3 separate regions of the Homo sapiens genome follow, and all the other regions are linked to region 3. Evidence: promoter capture Hi-C in 16 types of primary human blood cells and fetal thymus (Javierre and others, 2016). All regions are on one chromosome and are shown on one strand. Each heading gives the region's core, a stretch centred on a gene start or on the middle of the fragment in contact. The rest is flanking DNA. Distances are from core to core; before and after follow the strand shown.

Region 1 (3,025 bases), core at 213-2,712, 480 kb before region 3:
GTTTTCAATGTCATAAATGTGCTGCATGAGACGGGGGGCCAAGGTGCAGGGGGAAACACTTTATGAATGCTCACTGCATGTTCTTCAAAAAGGCAAATTATGAAAAATCACTCAAAAAAAAAAATTGTAGACTTCAGTGGAAAAGTTTCTAAAAACCAGGTCCTAAAAAGATTAAGGCAGCACCTCATTTCTGTTTGAAACTATTAAAAAAGTATCTTTCAGTCTTCACATAGGCCATTAAGGTTAGGGCACTGTTTTATATTTAATTGTTTCATATTAAATACCATAAATATGAGTCTAATCCATCTTAATTTGTTAGGGAACTGAAAGTTTGAGAAAAGTAAGCCTAAGTAGGCTCCTTCAGATGAAATGTGGTTTAATTTCTAGCCTAGGAAGATGGATTAGTTTACTTTTATACACTATTATCCTACTTTATAGTCTAAATGATGTGTTACAAATTACCCTAATATCAAATTAAAGACTATTATGTAGTATAAGTACCATATGAAATGTCCATTTTTTGGCATCCACACTTAGAACAAAAATTATTAGTTATAGAACTTAAAGCACAGCTCTGTGCCATCAAGGATCAGATGGGGTTTTGCTAACTAACCAGTATTCAAGAAAGAGCTACAGAAGTTATAAAGAAAAATACATGGATGCCTGTATATTAGTAACTTCTAAGAAAAAAGAAGAAAAATGAAACAACCAAAAAGCCACCACTGCATAATACATTTCCGGACTTCCAGGGAAAAGAATCTGAAGTGAACATGTGTTTAAAAGTTAAGGTCTGAATCAGATGTTGAACACAGAAGTCCTATTAGAGAAACACATGGAAGACTTAGAAGAGCTGGCAATATCACAATGCCCTGGCATACACATAGGAAGTTTGGGCGTAGGGGGAAGAATTCTGAAGGAATAGCATCAAGCTAAGCAAAAAGTTTGATTCTTCTATATAATGGGACAGCCTCTGGCACAGGGACTTTCAATTTTTGTTTCCACTGATCCAATTTAGATTGCTCAAAAAAAAAGCAGAGAAGTCTTTTAAGAACACAAGCTTTTGTTAAGAGCTGTAACTAAAGTTTCTGATCCTTGGATTTAAAAAGAAAAATTACAGGTAAGCATGTCAATGAATTCAGTTCCATCTGTACTACTGAAAATTCACTAAAATGTAAAAGGCTTTTCCACAAAGACTGCAATGTGCTGCAGAGGAAAAGTAACATGCAGTCAGTTATTTTGGTGTATGTGTGCATGAAAAAAAGGCAAAAGTACTGAAGCAAGAAGTGAGGTCTGAAGATGACTTGCTATACAGGCTCTCAAGAAACACACACAGCCCACAGCAATGCTATAAGAGTTTCAAAAATAGTATGATGTAATTGCAATGACTGTTGTACATGCTTCATTTAAAACAATGCATAACACTGCAGTTCAATTACCTGTTTTTCACACACACGCTTTCTAACTGCCTTGCTTACTAGCTGCTGAAGGGTCTCACACACAATGCATTTTACTCAGGTTTGCCCTAAGTTCCAGTGGTGATTCCAGTTTGGTTCAACATAATCCCAAGGCATTGTCCCCCACCCAAATTCTTTTAAATTTGTTTCAACTCTCCTTTACCTTCCCACCCTTTTCTAACCACAATTTGATAACAGACGTAAGTTTGTTTCATTTATATTGGGATGGAGACAAGCCAATGAAGGAAGCAGCAACCAAAAGGTGCCTGAATTTGACATCCTTGGACAAGCCAACTGATAAATAGGAGAGCAAATTTTAGGTAGCTTCAGAGGTATGCCTTATTACAGAAAGTAGAAGTTAATACTTTGTTAAAAATAATTCATGTTGCTTAGCAACAATTATAGCAAGCTTGGCTCTCATGATTAAAAAGGTTTTGATTCCTCTTAAAAATGGACTAGCACCATAAGAACTGGACACCTGGAGAAACATGAGGAAAGTCTCTTCGGAAGCAGCTAGTATCTCTCGTATCTACTTTCAGCAAAAAATTAGTAAGAATCAAGAGATCAGAAACTGGATCACAGTCCTTCAATACAAAAAAAAAAAAACCCCAAAAAGCCTTTTAGGGCATGTATATATACATATATAAATTCGACAACTGTCAGGCAAGCTCACAAAGTAAAACCAGAGGCTGTTTTAATTTACTTCAAGGATTATGACAGTCCTATTATGGTCCAGATACCCTGACAGGGAAGAGAAATTTCCTGTTACTTTGAAATTAATATGGAAACTCACCATACTCAGTTTTTCATAATATATTTAAGAGAGACTGTGAACCAACTACTGATTAGCCTCCTGCCCTTCCTAAAGCCTATTAGCCGATTAGTAGCAAACGTCTACTAATGTCCTACAGCTCTATTAAAGTTATGTTTCAAGGGACTTGCAGAGGCTTTAGTGAAAATTTATTGGGGGGAAAAAGCAGCAGCAGCAGTGTAGAAGAGGAAGGAAAAACATCATGCAAATTCCTTAGACTTAGTCCTCCAGACTTAAAGATGTTAAAGAATCAACTTTCACCTTTTCCTTTATTGCATCAACCTGCAAAGGAATTCAGAAGGTGCAGCTTAGAAAAAAAATCAATTCCATATTGAGCATAAAAAGGTAGAATCAGCAACAAAGGTTTAGGGAAGAAACATCTAACCACTAAAAAGGTATGAGAGAAGTGAAAATAAAGGGCATACTGGAAGCAAAATTTAGAATTTTGTGTAACTTCAAAGCTTAATGCAGAAGAATTTATGCTACAGTATGAAAGAAAGCAGCTTAATCACTAGAAAAATTTACAGCACTTAGGTTAACAGCAGCTTAAAGACAGGTCTCACAAGTTGGCATTATGTTTAAGAAGCTATTCTCATCTATGGCTAAGATAAGGCAACATGTTTTTTCTCTTACATTGAATACAGAAAATGTTAATTCTTTAAAAACTTTAAACAGACACAATGGTATCTAATTAAATGGTATCCTGAGGAAAAATTCAGTATGGGAGGGGTTGTTGGTAGCGCTTCTTCACCCTCCCATC
Region 2 (2,900 bases), core at 205-2,704, 340 kb before region 3:
GGAGGCTGAGGCAGGAGAATTGCTTGAGCCCGGGAGGTAGAGGTTGCAGTGAGCTGAGATCACACCACTGCACTCCAGCCTGAGCAACAAGAGCGAGACTCCGTCTCAAAAATAAATAAATAAAAAATAAAACAAAAATAAAAATAAATAAATTAATACTCTAAGTTGAGAGGGTTTTTGAAAAGGTGAAACCAAATTACTATAATAACAGGAAGAATGGGAGGAATAAAGTTTCTCAGATTGTATACTGTTCAAAAGAGGCTGACAGTATCTTAGACCAAGTTGAGCCATGCATGTTACAAATTTAAGAGTAAACATTGATTCAGTAAAAGGAAGTGATATTGTTCTTATAAATAAAAAAAGCAAAAGTAAGTTCTTGTTAATTTTACCACTGTGAAGAAAATATACTTGGTAACTGTGAACTTGCCACCAAAGGTAAAGTATACAAGGAAAAATGGATAAAACAAACTTAAAAAAATTTTAAGCTTCTATGTAATTACAATGAGGAAAAGATTGATTTCAAAATTGTGTAAGCCTGTAAGAAAACAACATGCTTTGTTTACTGATACATTTTTCTATATCACATAAAGCTTTACGTTATAAACCTGAAACCCCACTTTTTTATCAGAGAAACTCCTTTTTAATCGATAATAAGTAAAGGTTAATTTTTTTAACATAACTTTCAAGTCAGTAAGGGTGAAAAATAAATCAGTAACTCAATAGAAGGTAGGAAAGTATAAAAAAAGTAAATACATGGTAGATAAAAAACATTAAATAAAAAACAATAGAAATAAATTACTTTTGCAACTTTTCTGATATAATAGAGAACTTATTTCTACTATGTAAATAACTTAGTCAGAGATATGTGAAGGAGTGAAGAATGTGCCATCCCAAAATATTCCGGATTGGTATAGTAATTATTTGAAATTGAAAACAGTTGAGAAATTGTAATTTCATGCAGCAAGAGATACAGATGCCTCTGGGAGGGGCACCCTCTGCATACCAGAGCGAGCAAACCCTTATCACCAGAGACTTAGAATTGGAGGCTGCAGGCCAGGCGGGGTGGCTCACGACTGTAATCCCAGCACTTTGGGAGGTACAGGCGGGCAGATTGCCTGAGGTCAGGAGTTCAAGACCAGCCTGGCCAACATGATGAAACCCCGTCTCTAAAATACAAAAATTAACCGGGCGTGGTGGTGGGCGCCTGTAGTCCCAGCTACTTGGAAGGCTAAGGCAGGAGAATCACTTGAACCTTGGAGGAGGATGTTACAGTGAGTGAGATCGCACCACTGCACTCCAGCCTGGGGTGCAGAGTGAGACTCCATTTCAAAAAAAAAAAAAAAAAAAGAATTGGAGGCTGCAATGGATCGAATAAATGTACTTGACGAAGTAACCCTTTTCTTCCACCTGTTTTACATCCTCCATACATGTCCGAGTGACTCCCCTAGAAAATTTACTGCCCCTGGCCAGATACTCTTTGTTCTGTCATTTCTTTTCAAATGTAACATTTTTTGTCTAAAAATACAAAAGCATCTTGCTTTGGCTACTTATTCAGACTTCATGCTCTTGTGAATACCCCCATGTACATGTAGAACTAATACAATTTGTTTGCTTTTCCCTTGTTAATCTGCCTGGTGTCAATTTGGTTTCTAGATCTAGCTGAAGAGGCCACTAAGAGCAAAAGGGGGTTGATCTCTGGCTCCCCTAAACATGCACTCTGGTATAGAGACAAATTTGATCCTGAGACCCCCACATAGATCTGAGGCCCTTCCTCTCCTTGCCACCCTAGGTCACAAATCCCTCTGTACAGCTAGACATTATTTTGAACAGAAGCAGAGGGAAGCAGGAAGAAATGTGAAAGATTCTGGATTTAACCAAAAGAAAATTTGTTATTCAAAAGTGACTATTTATTTATTTATTTATTTATATTTTTTGAGACAGGGTCTCAGTCACTCAGGCTGGAGTGCAGTGGCACAATCATAGCTCACTACAGCCTCAAACTCCTGGACTCAAGAAATCCTCCTGCTTTGGCCTCCTGAATAGCTGGGACTACAGGTATGCACTGCCACACCCAGCTAATTTTTAAATTTTTTCTAGAAACGGGGTCTCGCTATGTTTCCCAGGCTGGTCTTGAACTCCTGGCCTCAAGCCATTTTCCTTCCTTGGTCTCCCAAAGCACTGGGATTAAATAGAGAAGTAAGCCACCATGCAGGGCCAAAATAAACTATTTAAACTAAAAAAAGATTGTTGCCTGGAATGACAAGTTTAACGTTTGGTTGGTTTTTTTCCTCTTATTATAGAGCAAGGTGGAAGCTTGCAAGGAAAAATTAGGTCCATGATAGAAATTAAAAAGGAGTATTTTCTTTGCATGTATTGGAATTATAATGTGGGTAAATGTTTGACCCCACTATAAACATTTTTGTAGGATTATTTTTCCACACTGTGTTTTTTCTCCTGGTGTTAATATTTTTCTGCGATTTGCATGCATTACCCCTTTTTAAATTAATTGTAGTCCCCATTGCATTGACCAAGGCGCCACCAAAGCGCCTTGTCAGTCTGGAAATGGCAGGTGTAAAGCATAAAGCAAGGGGCAGAAAGGGTAAGAATAGACCCAGTTCTTTGCAATCACAAGAAAGTGCTCACCCAGCCATTCTGCCCTTTTTAATTTGTTCCTTTCCTCGGATCTAAATGCACTGACAATTAGGACTATAGAAAACCATATGCATCGTGACCATCATTACTCACCGCCCTGACCATTCCCCTGGGTAACACAGAACATTTAATAGGCCTGTCCCAGCATCTGATAACAAAGGAAAAACATATGGCAGATCACGATAATGATTTTGTGTCTTTCTGTAATGATGAAAGAAAAACCTGATCCTGCATAATAATCGCTTTGT
Region 3 (2,727 bases), core at 43-2,542:
TTTCTTGCTTAGAACTAGCTCCACATGCTGCCATAGGAATTCCCGAAGAGTGAAATCCACTAGCTGGCCTGAAGAACTGGAACTGCTGCTGTCAATGTGAAAGGAAAGTTGTTGTCGGCTGTGCTGCCTCATCACCTGGTATCGCCTAGGCCCAGAAAGGGGTGCAGGCACCAGCAAAGATTCCGGGTCCTTCACAGTACAATGACTCCTAAGTTGGTCCAGCAACATACCTACTGGGTCCTCCTCCTGGCTTCCCGGTACTATGTACACGAAAGCTTGGTTGGCAGGCACAGTAAAGAGGCAGTTGATGCTCTGATTAGTCAAGACACGACTCTTCCGGAAGATTCTATAGATCTGGTCCTCCAGGGCATGCTGCAGCCTCCTTTTGGGAGAATGTTTCTTGGGCTTGTCTGGATGAGCTGGGTCTTGGTTCCGAGGAGGTTCTACCTTGAGGGCTCCATTGAGTTGAAAGAGGAAAAGGAGTCTAGGTGGGCAAGGTCGGCAGTTTAGCTTCCAGTCTTTGCCAACTGGACAATCCTTAATGGCTGTTTTAAGGAGCGGCAGGACCTTCTGTCTCAGCCCATCCAGGGCTCTGAATACTCGATCATAAGTGATATCAAAGGAACAAGTGGGATGGACCAGAAGCAAGATATGACAGACAGAGAATAGGTAAAGGAGACTGAGGCACTGCAGCTTCTCTTGATGCTTCCAGAACTCGTGTGCTTCTGCATGAGGTAAAGAGAGTCCACCTCCAGCTTCCCCGCTCTGAAGAGCCCGACAAGCCCGGAGAAGCTGTGAATTGTCACAGATGGAGGTGAGGAGAAGATACAGAACTTTGCTTTCCTGACTGTAGTAGGCCTGCAGAAGGCTGTAGTCCTGGGAGCCTGCCTCAGTTCGGTTACCTTCCGCGACAGCTCCACTTCCCCGAACTGAACCCCCGGCTGCAGCCCCAGGGTCCTCGGCTCCACCGGCCTCACCCACGGCGCCAGCCTCAGTTCTGATTCCAGGTCCTGGATCCCCAGGATCTTGGTGGCGAAAGAGAGGAAAGACCTGTCGGTCGCACACCGTATTCACAAGAGAGAACTTCTCGGAATTCAGGCGTAGAGCCGTCTTGCCGAAGATTCCCACAACGCAGATCTCATCCTCCCGCCATGGAGGCTCCGGTCCGCCAGCCGCGCTCCCTCCGCCCTCAGTAGGGGACCCTCCGGGACTTTCAGAGCCCATCCAGGCTGATGCTCCCATTAGAAGGTCTCGCAAGCTCACGGGACCAGCCATAGTGCAGAGCGTTCTCTAGAGTCCTTCCGGTCCGTTAGTAAAACCGACCGGCTTTCGTCCAATTTTGAAATCCTTCCTCCGCTTCTTCAGTTCCTGCTTTCCCGTCACTTGAGTTCCGCCTCCTCTTCTCCTCTCCTAGTTTGTTTCCTCAACTGTAGGAATTGAGATATCAAAAACAAAAAACAAAAAAACAAAACAAAACTGGGACTACTGCGGTGGCTCACGCCTGTAATCCTAGCACTTTGGGAGGCCAAGGCGGGCGGATCACCTGAAGTCAGGAGTTCGAGACCAGGCTGGCCAACATGGTGAAACCCCATCTCTACTAAAAATACGAAAATTAGCCGGGCGTGGTGGCGGGCGCCTGTAATCCCAGCTACTCGGGAGGCTGAGGCAGGACAATCGCTTGAACCCGGGAGGCGGAAGTTGCAGTGAACCGAGATCACACCATTGCACTCCAGCCTGGGCAACAAGAGCGAAAACCGTCTAAAAAAAAAAAAAAAAAAAAAAAAAAAAGCAAAAATTAGGCGTGGTGGCGCATACCTGTAGTTCCAGCTGCTCAGGAGGCTGAGGCAGGAGAATTGCTCGAACCAGGAGGTGGAGGTTGCAGTGAGCCGAGATCACCCCGCTGCACTCCAGCCTGGGCGACAGAGTGAGACTCCGTCTCAAAAAAAAAAAAAATTGCGAAATATCTTTGTATGTAAATTATAACTTGCAGAACCTCTCTAACTAGAAGGCATATTGACAAATAGCTGCCAGGATAAAACTTACAACCAGATTTAAATGTATAATTATAACGTTTATTATTCTGGGGTTTTGTAAAAAATAAAAATCTTTGAATCTAAAAAAATTATCTATAGCACTATACAATAACATGACTGAATCTTTAAAATAAATGTTGATTGAAAGAAATCAGAAACAAAAGTGTATATACCCTATAATTCTATTTTTTTTTTTTTTTTTTTTTTTTTTTGGAGATGCAGTCTTGCTCTGTGGCCAGGCTAGAGTTCAGTGGCGCGATCTCGACTCACTGCAACCTCCGGCTCCCCGGTGCAAGTGATTCTCTTGCCTCAGCCTCCCAAGTAGCTGGGATTACAGGTGCGTGAGACCACACCCAGCTAACTTTTGTATTTTTAATAGAGACAGGATTTCACCATGTTGGCCAGGATAGTCTCAATCTCCTGATCTCATGATCTGCCCGCCTCGGCCTCCCAAAGTGGTGGGATTACAGGCGAGAGCCACTGCGCCAGGCCTGATTTTATTTCTATAGAGTTCAAAAGCAAGCAAAATAAACCATTGCATTTAGGGGTGTGTTCTTACTAAAAGCAAGGAAATATTTATTGTACCAAGTAGGTCAGTGATTACTTAGTGAGGGAAGGGATTATGATATAATATATATATTATATATATACATAATAATATATATTACACATATACATAATAATATATATTATA

What was found. The method cuts DNA at HindIII sites, captures the fragments that hold promoters and counts their contacts. A CHiCAGO score of 5 or more calls a contact.
Region 1: a contact is called between a fragment that was not itself captured here and the fragment with the promoter of SMG8 in region 3, in 1 of 17 cell types (megakaryocytes). The highest score is 5.7, in megakaryocytes.
Region 2: a fragment that was not itself captured here is called in contact with the fragment with the promoter of SMG8 in region 3 in 1 of 17 cell types (endothelial precursors); the score reaches 5.0 in endothelial precursors.

The regions. Positions count from the first base shown.
Region 1 is chr17:59,686,523-59,689,547 of GRCh38, reverse strand. The region is part of intron 30 of CLTC (clathrin heavy chain); the gene reads right to left. Among named protein-coding and RNA genes, the nearest start is that of PTRH2, 19 kb to the left of the region's middle. The HindIII fragment of the contact is 806 bases long and covers 1,060-1,865 here.
Region 2 is chr17:59,547,384-59,550,283 of GRCh38, reverse strand. All of the region lies in intron 2 of LOC105371847 (a long non-coding RNA gene), which reads right to left. Among named protein-coding and RNA genes, the nearest start is that of DHX40, 17 kb to the left of the region's middle. The HindIII fragment of the contact is 1,723 bases long and covers 593-2,315 here.
Region 3 is chr17:59,208,600-59,211,326 of GRCh38, reverse strand. It overlaps SMG8 (SMG8 nonsense mediated mRNA decay factor), which reads right to left and starts at 1,292. Exons shown (of 4, transcript NM_018149.7): 1 at 1-1,292. The coding sequence starts at 1,275. RefSeq lists an enhancer at 1,414-1,483. The HindIII fragment of the contact is 12,029 bases long and covers 278-2,727 here.